Regions from separate parts of the Homo sapiens genome. Here region 2 is linked to region 1. The links are contacts of gene promoters, found by promoter capture Hi-C in blood cells and fetal thymus (Javierre and others, 2016). All regions are on one chromosome and are shown on one strand. The core of a region is centred on a gene start or on the middle of the fragment in contact, and the rest is flanking DNA. Distances in the headings are between cores, read along the strand shown. Region 1 holds the start of KRT79 (keratin 79). Region 2 holds the start of KRT1 (keratin 1).

Region 1 (5,990 bases), core at 1,545-4,044:
TCAAAGAGGGGCTCCAGGTTGTTCCTGGTGACACCCAAGTTCTGGCCCTGCTCCTGCAGCAGTGCCCACTTGGTCTCCAGCACCTTATTCTGTTGCTCCAGGAACCGCACCTGAGCCAGAGCAGAAAGGGTGGGCTGATGTCACCCTCCGGTCACCAGAGGAGCCAAGGATGGGGTCCATTGCCACCTCCCCTCCAAGGCCAGGGCAACATAGGGACGCTGCAGCCGCACCTACACTTTGCTGTGGGGAGGCACTCCTTAGGGGAATAGACTGCTGGAAACGACCGTCCAATCTGATGGAAAGAACTCTACCAAGTTAATAAGCACAAAAGCCCAGCTCAGTAGCAGTACCAATTTACTAGTTGGTAACCTTGGTCGAATCATTTCTCTCTGAGTCTCCCTCTCTCACTTGTCCTGCATAAACTGGACTAGATCTATGTTTCTGACCCCTAATTCTGCATTAAAATCATCTGTTTAAAATGTAAATCAACTGTTTAAAATCACACACTTTGGGAGCCTGAAGCTGGAGGAGTGCTTGAGCTCAGGAGTTCAAGACCAGCCTAGGCAACATAGCAAGACTGTCTCCACTAAAAATCAAGACAATTAGCCAGGTGTAGTGGCATGCACCAGTAGTCCCAGCTACTCAGGAGGCTGAAGTGGGAGGATCACTTGAGCCCAAGAGATGGAGGCTGCAGTGAGCTATGACTGTACCACTGCACTCCAGTCTGGGAAACAGAGCAAGACCCTGTCTCAAAAAATAATAATAATAAATTAAGAAAATTGGTGAACTGGGTGAAAGAGTATACAGGAGTATGTTGTACTATTCTTGCAACTTTTCTGTAAATTCAACATTTTTTCCCAAAAAAAACTTTTTTTAAAGTACCAATGTCTGAGCCCTTCCTCTATAGACTCAGAAGGAGGCTTACGGTGTGGGTTTAACAGGACCCCCGAGAGTTCTTGGCCCAGCTGGGGTTCCAAGACAATCTCTCAGACCTCCAGCTCCCAAGCTGTGATTCTGCAATCCTGAGAAAGGTTTTGGCTTGTTTGGCCTCTGGGACAGTCCCACAGGAAAACCAAAAGTCACTAGGGGAGAGGGTGAGGAGGCAGGCAAGACGGCTTGCTTCATATTCTGTCATCCAATATCTCCAGGTCCCATCTCCACACTACCTGGGCCTCAGTCACATGCCCTGGGAGCATCATGCAGCAGGTGTGCCTATTGTGAGCAGTAACAACTCTTAGTGCCAAGAACCACAGAGTCCAGGGGCCTGGGTCCCAGTCCCGCCTCTGCCTCCAACTCCTTGTATCATCCTGGGCAAATCACTTGAGCTCTCTAGACCTCAATTTTCTCATCTCAAAAATGGGCACAATATCACCATTTCTGAGTCTTCATAGAAGCACTGTGGGTACCTCAGGAGAAAAGGGATGTGCATGTTCTTCGGAAACACACAAATCACTGAACCAAGGTACATTTGTCTGCCAGACCTTCCCCATCATGACCCGCTGCCTTGGCTCAGGATCGAGGTGGACAATGCCAGCGAAACAGACCAGGAAATCCCAGCACAAGTGTTGCTCCCATCCATCTGGAGGCAAGGGCAAGGTTCAGGGCATGCCTATGGGCAACAGGTCAAATTCCACATTCCCAGAGCTTGGTGACCTGGTGACCACCCTCCTCATTGTCCACCCCAAATTGAGCTTCTTCACTCAGAGTGTAAAAAAAGGAGAAGCGGAAGGGAGCCTACCCCTAGGACCCCACCCACACACAACTGTGTTTTGATCACATCTTGCCCTTAAGCCTCCTCCAAGCCTGAAAGAATGGAACAAACAGGGCTCCATGCTCTTAGCCTTGAACAACTCTTTCAACTCCTGAGCATTGTTTCCCCAGCTGTAAAATGACAAAAGGCAATGCAGGCCACCCCACTAAGAGGAGCTATGAGGACAATCCATTTTTTGATGATGAGGTAAGGCTACTGTGCAATCAATCGTATTAATCATGGTGGTAGGACAGGCTTCAACACGGGCAAGGTGGACTTGGCAAACCGGACTCATGAGTAGACTGGAGACTCCCCCCGCACAGGCACGGTGAAGACCTGAAGGCCGCCTCCAGCCACCCACGTCTCGGCATCCCAGGCTCAGACCGGGAGAGCTCCAGAGCTCTATCAACCACCACCCTAGTACAAGTGGGCTACAGCAGCCCTGGCCCAGCCCACCCTCTATTAGAGGTCCCGCTTCTTCCCCAAGAGCTCCCTTCCTCCTTCCTGCTTGGCCCACCTTGTCGATGAAGGAGGCGAACTTGTTGTTGAGGGTCTTGATCTGCTCCCGCTCCTGAGTGCGCACTCGCTGGATCTCGGGGTCAATCTCCACATGGAGGGGGGTCAGCAGGCTCTGGTTGACAGTGACCTCCTGGATCCCCCCAGGAGGACAAGCAGGCCCAAACGTCTGCCTGCCAGCCCCCTGTCCCATAAATGCCCTGCTGCCAAAGCCAAAGCCCCCCAGAGCCCGCCCCAACAAGGCCCCTCCGGCCACACTGACAGAGATACTCTTGTGGCCCCCCAAGTTATAGAGGCTTCGGCTGCCAAAGCCACCTGTGCCGGGGCCACAGTGGGCCCCGCCACCACTGCCACTGCTCCGAGACACCGTCACTGAGCTGAAGCTGGTGCGGGCCTGGGACCCACTCCCTCCGCTGGCAGAGTTGGAGCTGAAGCCCCCTTTTGTGGAGTATGTTTGCCGAGAGACGGAGGACCTCATAGCTGCAGAGGGGCCGGAGGGCAGGATGAGAGGGCAGGAAGGGAGTGCCGTGAGCTGCTGGGCCACTGTGGGCTTTTTATCTTTTCCCAACTGGGCCGGCTCCCCAGCTCCACAGACACTCCTGCCCCATCGCCCCAAGGGGAGAGGGAGGGGTCCTTAGGGCCACGGGGAGTGCCCTCTCCCCAAGCAGGAGGGAGGGGCCCTCCCGGTTATCACCTGTGCTCCAGAGCTGGGGCTGAGCCGAGACTGTCTGGGGCAGGATGCCACCTTCTCCCCCTGCCCCCAGGCTCTCCTCGGTTGGCACAGGATGATACGGGCTCCCATGGCCACCCCCACCACCCAGTGGCTGGCTTGCTGTCCTCCCACCCAGCCCCAGAGGCCACTGTCAATAGGGCTCTGTTCTACGGGGTTTGTCCCAGGCCCCTGTTGTAAGCCAAGGCTGCAGGGCCTGGGGCTGTACAGGTGGTAGGAGAAGGAGCATTGGGCAATGGGCTGCCAGAGAGAGCATCCAGGCCTGCTCCCATCCCACCCCCAGCCAACGGCCCACCACTCCTCCCAGGTCCAGGGTGTGTGACACAGGTGACAGGGCGAGAGTGGGGATAGCCTGTGCCTCTGCCGTACAGTGGCAGAGCCTTCTGGGAAGTGAGCCTATGCTGGCAAAGTGAATTCAAGGACAGAAAGAGGATCCCTGCCCAATCGTGGGGCCCAGGCCCTTGATCAGGAGGTAGAAAAGGCCTGGGGTCCTCAGGCAGGGCCCAGAAGCCTGGGAGCAAAGGACATTCTTATGGAGGCTGAAGAGAGGGCAGGGGATTTAACCAATACCTGAGATCCCTGAGCCTCTACCCCACAGCAGAGTCCCCACAGAAAGGTTCAGCCACTTTGGAGGGAGCTGGAGGTGGGTCAAGGACACAGACCACCCTGGGTGGAGACAGGCACAGCTCCAAAAAGCAGGTGTTCCAAAAAAGCCCCAGGAGGCCCACGCAGCAGCCCCGTCACTCCCATCTTCCCCTGCCCCACATGCAGGAGCCCATGTTTCTGATTCAGAGGGGCCAGGGGAGCTCCTTAAATCACCTCATATGGTCCCCGCCGCCCACTTCCTATTCACCTCAGTCTGCTGGGACCAAACACAGCCCCAAGCAAAGACAGAGACGTCAACTGTCAGGGCCGAGGGGTGACTGAGGAGGTGACTTTAGACACTGGCCCTCCCCACCCCCTTCTCTCAGCAAGAAGATGGGCTCAAAGTGAACAGAGACTTGCCTGAAAAAAAGGAGCGAGGACAGCATCGCTGTGCTCCCCACCCCCATCAGATGAGCAGGACAACCAGCCAGGCTGTGTCCCCAGGATCCCAACAGAGAGGACATGGGACTGCCACGGAGAAGGCTTGGCCTCCCTCCCATGTTCCCCACAGCCCAGCAAGTGAAGAGACAGCCTGCTCCAGGACCAGAGGGAGCTGTGGGATCTTCTCCTAGGGCCCCTGGGAGGCTGTAAGTGGCTCCCCGTTGCTTGAAGAGGTTGAACCCAGCTCCCACAAGGAATGGGAGTGAGAGCACTTGCAGAACTAGTCCCTTAATAGCCAAGAGGAGATTTTGGAGTTAGGACACTGGGCATTTCAGGGAGCCAAGCCGAGACGTCTCCCACACTGAGCTGTGTGTCCTGGGGCAACTCGCAACTTCTCTGAGCCCCATTTTCTCTGCCTATAAGCAGGGCCCTCCGTGGAAGACCTTTCGAAAAGTGATCCCTGGATGAAGCCGCCCCTTCCCACTGACCTTCGTCTCCTTTCCCCAGGCTGAGATCACTTTCTCAGCCTCCCTTATCTCTCCCTGGGTGGCGTGGGAGGAGGAAACAGTCATGAGTGGGCCCTAGCCTCCAGGATGTGGCTGTGGGCCCCCTGGGCAAGGAAGTGTTGTCAGCCCTCTGAGTCACAGGGCAGCCAGGCTGGTGGGAGTGAGAGGCAGTCGATAAACACAAGTCTCACCTCACCCCAGACACGACACTCACGCCAGTCCCTTGCACACATTTACCAAGCACGCTCTCTGGGCCACGCTTTGTGCTGGGAGCTGGTGACAGGCACACAGGGACCAGGGCACACTCTCATGGAGCTCCCGGCTTGCTGCTTGGAGACAGCCTCCCTCCCACCCAGGTTCACAGCCCAGGCCCAGACAGAAGCCTGGGAGGGCACTTTGCCTCCACCAGCCCCTACTCTCCACTCTACCTTCAGACAGGACATGCACGCTCAGACCTTCTTTCTGCAGCCCAGGGAGGAGCAGTTTCCTCCCCTCCTGCCCTCCACAGAGAGGAAGAGCTGCTGCACACTGCTATACTGATTACTGAGGGGCTCCATCTCTGGAGACTGTCACCTGCCCAGAGTCCCTCCCTGATGGCAGGACACAAAAGCAGAGGGGACTGAAGGTTGCTGCCACCAAAGGGAGGGGGCAAGAGAGTGGATACTGCCAACCTAGCACCTACCATGGGTCAGGCCGGGTGCCGAGCAATAGGAAAGTTACAGGGACAAAGGAGCCCCAAGAGGGTAGGGCTTTCTGAGCTAATTATCATCATTATTACAGTCAACACTTACTGAGCACGTACTATGCAGCAGAGTGGCCTGGATGCCTTCCCTGCAATGGCATGTTGAGTCTCCGCACTGGGTGATGCTCCATCTGCCTCCCTCCCGCTCCATTCTCCACCTTCCTCTGACCCTTGTGGGCTGCTCCCTGGCACTCTGGCTTCCAGTTGAGTTGACCAAAGGGAGACACCAGCAGGAGATCAGAGGGAGGAGACAGGTCAGATGTTTCTTCCCAGCTCCCTCCCTGCTTCCAACCACTTCAGACCACTGTCTGGGGACATGGCTACATCTCCCCATGATTACAGCTTCTGCCACCTCACTGCTTCTCTTGATCTTCAGCTCTACATAAGGCGACCAGCCCATCCTGATTTTCTCAGGACTGCCCAGCTTTAGCACTGCAAGTCCTCTCAGTCTTGGACACACTGAGAGGGTGGACCTCACTCTAGGTGTGGTAACGGCTTCTCGCCATTGCTGGTCCCTGGCCTCTCCATCCCTGTTCCCTCAGCCCTAACCACACCTCTGCAAGTAATCCTTTCCTTAAAGTCAATTTAGCCCTCTCAGGTCCTCACTTCCAAGAAGACAAAGAAAAGAAGGAACAACAATCACGCCCACGACCACGTGCAGCCTATTCACTACACAAACCCCACCTGACACGTGCCCGAGGGCAAGGCCATTAAGGAGGT
Region 2 (5,990 bases), core at 557-3,056, 150 kb before region 1:
TTGATCACTCTTCAGTTGGTCCACTCTCCTTCGGAGATTGTTGATGAATGACTCAAAGTAGGGCTCTAAATTATGGGTTCTAGTGGAGGTATCTACCTGCTGCAGCAGCTCCCATTTTGTTTGCAGTACCTGGTTCTGCTGCTCCAGGAACCTCACCTAAAAACACAAGACCCCTTTACTCCTGATGCATAAATGGAGTCTCATAGCCATGGAGAACTGTGCCTCATTTGGAAAAGAACCTCAATTCCTATCTTCTGACCATGACAGAGAAATAGGAAGAAGATGATCAAGTTAATATCATCTGCATAATAAAACCCAACTTGTTAATTCAGAGAGGGCTTGGAAGGGAGTAACTAAACAAATACCAATAGCAAAGCGCATACAGAATTATTGCAATTATGTTTTGAAATAGGTGCATGGTATTTAAGAGATTTGCCTTCCAAAATTTTGTTAGGTATATTACCATAAAAACTGGTTTGCATCCCCAGGACACACACACATTTCAAAAGTATATCAGGAAAATTCAAAATTGGATTTGAAATTTGTTGTGGATAACCTTGGATTGGCACTATTAATGATTAAGCAAAAAATTAAAAAAATGGTTTATCTGAGTTTTTTAGAGCTGATTTTTGGAGATATTAGTATAAAAAAACTCTAGCCTCATCCAGTACCAATGTAAAATTATTAGAAGGCAGAGCTCCCCTCTGACAGCAAAAGATGTTTGGCACTGACTGACCACATGTTTTCTGCTACAATAACACTCTATACTATGTTCACACTCAACTCCCTTTCTATGGTTAGGAAGACCTTTCCAGGGTTCTCACTTGCACCCTGGAAAGTTCAGTTAGCCCCATTTCTATTATCTTCATTCAACAGATATGAGTCCCAATTCCGCTCAAGAGCTGAATAAAAAGCACTTAAATGTTAATGTCACACTGACCCACCTTTAGGTCGACCACGAACCCTTTGTCAAAGAGAGAGTCATTAACACCATTCACAAGCATACATCTAACATATCTCCTAGGAGACCATTCCACAAAACATCCTTTTAATCATGTAAACATGGAAACTTGAGGTTCAAACCTACTGTGTTTTGACTGCACCAATCCCAAGTGGACCAGCGGCAGCCCTACCAGTGCAATGAGAGAGAAACTCACCTTGTCAATGAAGGAGGCAAATTGGTTGTTGAGTGACTTGATTTGCTCCCTTTCTCGAGACTTCACCTTTTGGATCTCAGGGTCAATCTCCACATTGAGGGGCTGAAGAAGGCTCTGGTTGATAGTGACTTCTTGTATGCCACCAGGAGGGCAGACAGGACCATAACCACCCCCATATCCACCACCCCCAAAGCCACCTCCACCAAAACCACCACCACCACTGCCAAAACCACCAAAGCCACCACCCCCAATGCCACCTCCACCAAAGCCACCACCACCAAAGCCACCACCACCAAAGCCACCACCACCATAACCACCACCAAAGCCACTACCACGTCCACCTCCTCTAGCCACACTTATGGAGATGCTTTTACTGCCACCAAGGTTAACAAGACTCCGACTTCCAAATCCACCACCAGCACCAAAGCTACCACCACCACCACCACAGCTTGAAAATCTCCCACCACCTCCTCCACTGCGGCGTGTGGAGCTGCTGGTGGTCCTGCGCTGGTAGTTGATGATCCCAGCAGAGCCAGAGCTGAAGCCCCCTCCACTTCGGTACCCAGACCTGGAACTAAACTGTCGACTCATGTTGACTTAGAGAAAAGTAGGAGCAAGGTAGAGTAAGGGAAGGAGCTAAACACTCCTCTACCCCAAGCATAGAGACTTCCCCTTATATACAGGGAAGAAATTGGGCTTGGTCTTCTAGAGTCAGCGGAGATGCAGTGCCTGTCAAGGGTTTGGCTTGCCTGCAGCCATACAAGATTTTTACGAGCCTCAACAATACGATAAACACTACACACCTAGCTCCCAGGATGGGCTCTCAAAATTGCTGTGCATGCAAGATTGGTTCATGTGGTAATTATTTTATCACACAAGATCTTCCTTCAAGCATTTGTGGCTTTGGGAAAACAGGACCCCACATCTGATACCTGGTGTTTCTTGGTAGGATTTCATAACCCCCATCAAAAAGGCATGAAAGTTTCTATTCTCACCTTGCCTTTGTGAGCTACCAAGCACACTCTCTTACCATGCACAGCAGGTGCAATTCCCCGTGCTTGGATCTCAGAAGGAGCTCTCTGGCCCATTTCTAAGATCTTCTTTCCAAACTCCAGAGCTCACTCAGTTACAACCTGACAAAGAGAAAGGGCTTTAATAACTAAAAAATTAAAAGGTCTTTCATAAATATAAGCTTTATAAATATACCACAGTGATTAATTAAAGGAAGAGAAGCTGTCATTGAACAAGATGGATGAGTGGGTGGTCTGGAAGAACCAGAAGGGAGAGACATTTTTTTTCTCTGTTTCTCAGTTATTCCTTTTCTTGTTTCTTTTCTTCAAAGATAGAGCAGGAGACAGACACCAGCAATAGAAAACAGGTAGCAATGGATAGCATGCAAACGCCCTTGAGTGAAAAAGCCCACAGAGCAGTGAGACGAGTAAATAGAAGCTCTAGGACATTTTGTAAAGCACAGGGGTGGAGGTGAGGCTTGATAGGTGATTCAAGCCTCACACTGGACTGCAAAGAGAGAGAGATAAATGCAGATTTGGAAGGGAAGACAATGAGAGGTGTCTGGAGAGCCTTATATGAGAAGTTTAAATTGTTTCTGGAGGTGATAATAATGATAATACCTAACATGTATCAAAAACTGACCATGTACCAGGCACTGTTCTACGTAGCACATATGTATTAACTTGCTTAATTTTCACAACTTTGAGATAGATGCTATTTTTCTCCCCATTTGTAAAATGAGGAAGCAGAGACACAGGGGTTGAATAACGTGATCAAGTCTACACAGTTGGTAAGTGGGGTGCCTGCGATTTGAAGCAAGAATACCTAGCTATCATGTGCAAGATCCTAAACAGCATGTTGTACGACAGCACAGCAGCCGAATTCAAGTCATTCTGCCTGCTGTGTGTAAAGCCAGACAGCACAGGAAGCGCCCCACCACAGAGAGCTCTGAGGGCAGAAGGCCTGTTTTATCACTCTGAGTCCTTGGCTCCTGGCACATGCAAGTCTTGGAAAATGTTTCTTCAATTCACACTGAGAAGGAGATTTTGGTGGCACAGAGTTTAGTGAGGAGATTTTACTTCCATCCAAGTGCAAGAGTACCCAGCATGCATTGCAATGGACCAGGAAACCTCAGGGGTCTTCCTGGAGAGCAGCACTTGATCAATATCAGTGGATAATAGTGGCACTGAGATCTGGACACACTAGAAGCCCAAGCAGACTTTCATTCGAAGACTTCTTAGAAGCCTGGCATGGTCCCCGGGCCTGCACATAAACACAGAATTGAAGACTCAAAGGGGAGAAGCCAGCTCTAACTTCAGCTGGCTCCAAGTAACTCTGTAAGTGGCAAACCATAGATGTACATGGGAAGTCTCCACTATGGTGTGCAAGATCTATGGGAGAAAGGGAGTCTGTGAAGATCATCTGGTCCCATTACTCTGTGGCTCTGAATCGGGCTGGCTGTGTCGGTCCTCTCCATTGCACTCCGCTATTGAACCTTGTCCCTCTTCTCCTCCCAGTTTTTGCCCTATACCCTCCTCCAGAAAGTGCCCCTCACCGCTCCCCTGCTACTCCTCTCCCTCGCCATCACTGTGGCACTGCTGTCTGGGACTCTGTCCTAGCACTAAAATCCTTCGGCTGCTAAACCAACCATCTCTTTAGGGAATGAGTAATTCAGGTCTTGTTAGGAACAATGGAGACTGGGACAGTCTTGGCATGGTAATGACTGTTGCCTAATCATTTTCTGACAAGCAATCAAAATTATTTTAGTTCAGCATACTCCCTCATGAGACATATTGTTCTGCACAATCGATTCCTTCTAGCATTTTGGAGGGGTGTGAGTATGTGTGTGCACACATGTTTGTGTGCACACATGTTTGTGTGCATGTGTGTGCCAGCCAAAAACAGACCTTGGCAGTGATCCACACTCCCATCTTTGAACTAAGAAACTGACATACAGAAAAATCAAAGGTTTGAATGAATGGTCAGGGAATTGGTAGACAACTTAGCTGCAAAACATACCCCAGGTGCTCCTGTGAGAAGGGAGAAATGCAGGACTAGCAGGAATAAGTGCCATAAACCTCACCATAGCTTACATTTGCACAGCTCACCCCACCAAACACATATGCAAAGAGCATCCCACAAGAGCCCTGAGAACTAGGCAATCAAGCTGTTCTCAACCCATTTCATGAAACAGAAAACTGATTCTCAGAGATTAAGTGGCTTCCTCTAGACACTCCGGCTAGGAAAAGACACATCTGGAAGCAGAATCTGGGTTTTCTGATTTCAATTCAAGTGACATTCCTCCCTGAACCGGGAAGAGGCTCAAAGACAGGCAAGTGGAACTGGGCCCTATAAACAAGTACACAGAGAATTACAGAATGTTCTCATCCATGGGGCCTCAAAGGTCACATCATCTAACCTGCCTCACAGAGAAGTGAGAGCACAGGCCCAAAAAAGTAAAAAAAAAAAAAAAAAAAAAAAAAAGTGTCCAAGTCATAAGTCAATTCCTGAGACTCTTCCAATTGTTGAATCAAACTCCTTTTCTTTTTCCACTGCCCACTTTCGAGGCAGCCCAACAGAGCTGGAGCTGCAGTGCTGCCAGACCAGGCCCGTCATCTCCTGTGATGTCCCCAGGATCAGTGTGGGTGTGTGGGATATGAAGAACCACATGCAGGAAAGGTGTGAGCCACACACTCTCTCCTGGCTTACTTATGTACTGTGCATTTATGAAATAAAGACAAAATGAGAAAGAAAGAGACACTAACATCTACAGGCAGCAACTATGCTGTTAGGAGCCACATTGCATTTAAATACCACACAAAGTCTGCGTCGTGGGAGCTCTTAGCCCCATTTTAAAGAAAAGGCATCTTAGGTTTATAGAGGTTGAAATATGTGCCCAAAGTCATCCAGCAGGTAACTGACAAGCCACGCTTGCCTCACTCCAGAGTCCAAGCCCGCCGCATCACATGGGCTCCTTCTGTCATTGGCCTGCTCTCACCACCAGCACCACCTACATCTTACCCTGCTCACCCACTCCCCCGGCCTCACGCCTTGACCCCTTCACTCTCGTGCTTTGCCCAGACTGATCAACCCTCTTCTTCCCTTTCCATCCCTGTTCCTCTCTGTCTTCCAAGCCCACTTCTACTCTTCTCTTTTCTGAAAGGTCTTCTGGTTGCCTCGGCAACTTGCCACAAATCCCTACCCATAGTCAAGCTCTGGGGCACCAAAGATCTCAATTCCTGAGCATTTGGTCCTGAATCTGTTTTTGGTCCATCAGGGCTTGTGGGCAAATGCCTTCATCTCTCGCTCAAGCAGGCAGCAGACAGGTCCAGATCTCATCTCCTCCAGGGAGTTTTCCTCAGTCCACATCGGGCAAGTGCTCTATTGGTCTCTTTTTCCAAGCTCGGCTGCTGCCAGACTTAGTACATATTGATGCATTTGTTGGCTCATTTTCATGCATGTGCTTGTGTGTTTCCTGGCCCCTCAATCACTCTGGAAGCCTTTGGAAAGCAAGACTAAGTCCCCTGTGTCTTTTGATGTCCTCCCAGCATCCCACATGGCCCCTTATACTTGAGAGTTACCCCAGCGGTGCTGGATGACAGAGCACCAAAACACCCCCACCCAAGGACTCACACACACAACCCAGAACTGATCATTGAGATGAGGCTGCCAGGGGCTGGCTGTGGGGCATGGGCAGGAGCAGGTGTGGTGATGTTTTGAGAGCTTTTGTGGGATGGGACCAAGAAAAGAGTGAAGAAAGACATGCAGTGACAAGCCACCCAGCCCTGAGGGACTCCACCAGGGACATGGGACAGGGAAATC

What was found. The method cuts DNA at HindIII sites, captures the fragments that hold promoters and counts their contacts. A CHiCAGO score of 5 or more calls a contact.
Region 2: the fragment with the promoter of KRT1 here is called in contact with the fragment with the promoter of KRT79 in region 1 in 3 of 17 cell types (naive CD4 T cells, naive CD8 T cells and non-activated CD4 T cells); the score reaches 8.8 in naive CD4 T cells.

Annotation. Positions count from the first base shown.
Region 1 is chr12:52,831,517-52,837,506 of GRCh38, forward strand. KRT79 (keratin 79) reads right to left here and starts at 2,795. Exons shown (of 9, transcript NM_175834.3): 1 at 2,268-2,795; 2 at 1-110. The coding sequence starts at 2,744. RefSeq lists an enhancer at 5,267-5,990. The HindIII fragment of the contact is 16,661 bases long and covers 1-5,990 here.
Region 2 is chr12:52,678,601-52,684,590 of GRCh38, forward strand. KRT1 (keratin 1) reads right to left here and starts at 1,807. Exons shown (of 9, transcript NM_006121.4): 1 at 1,158-1,807; 2 at 1-156. The coding sequence starts at 1,748. The HindIII fragment of the contact is 12,025 bases long and covers 1-2,347 here.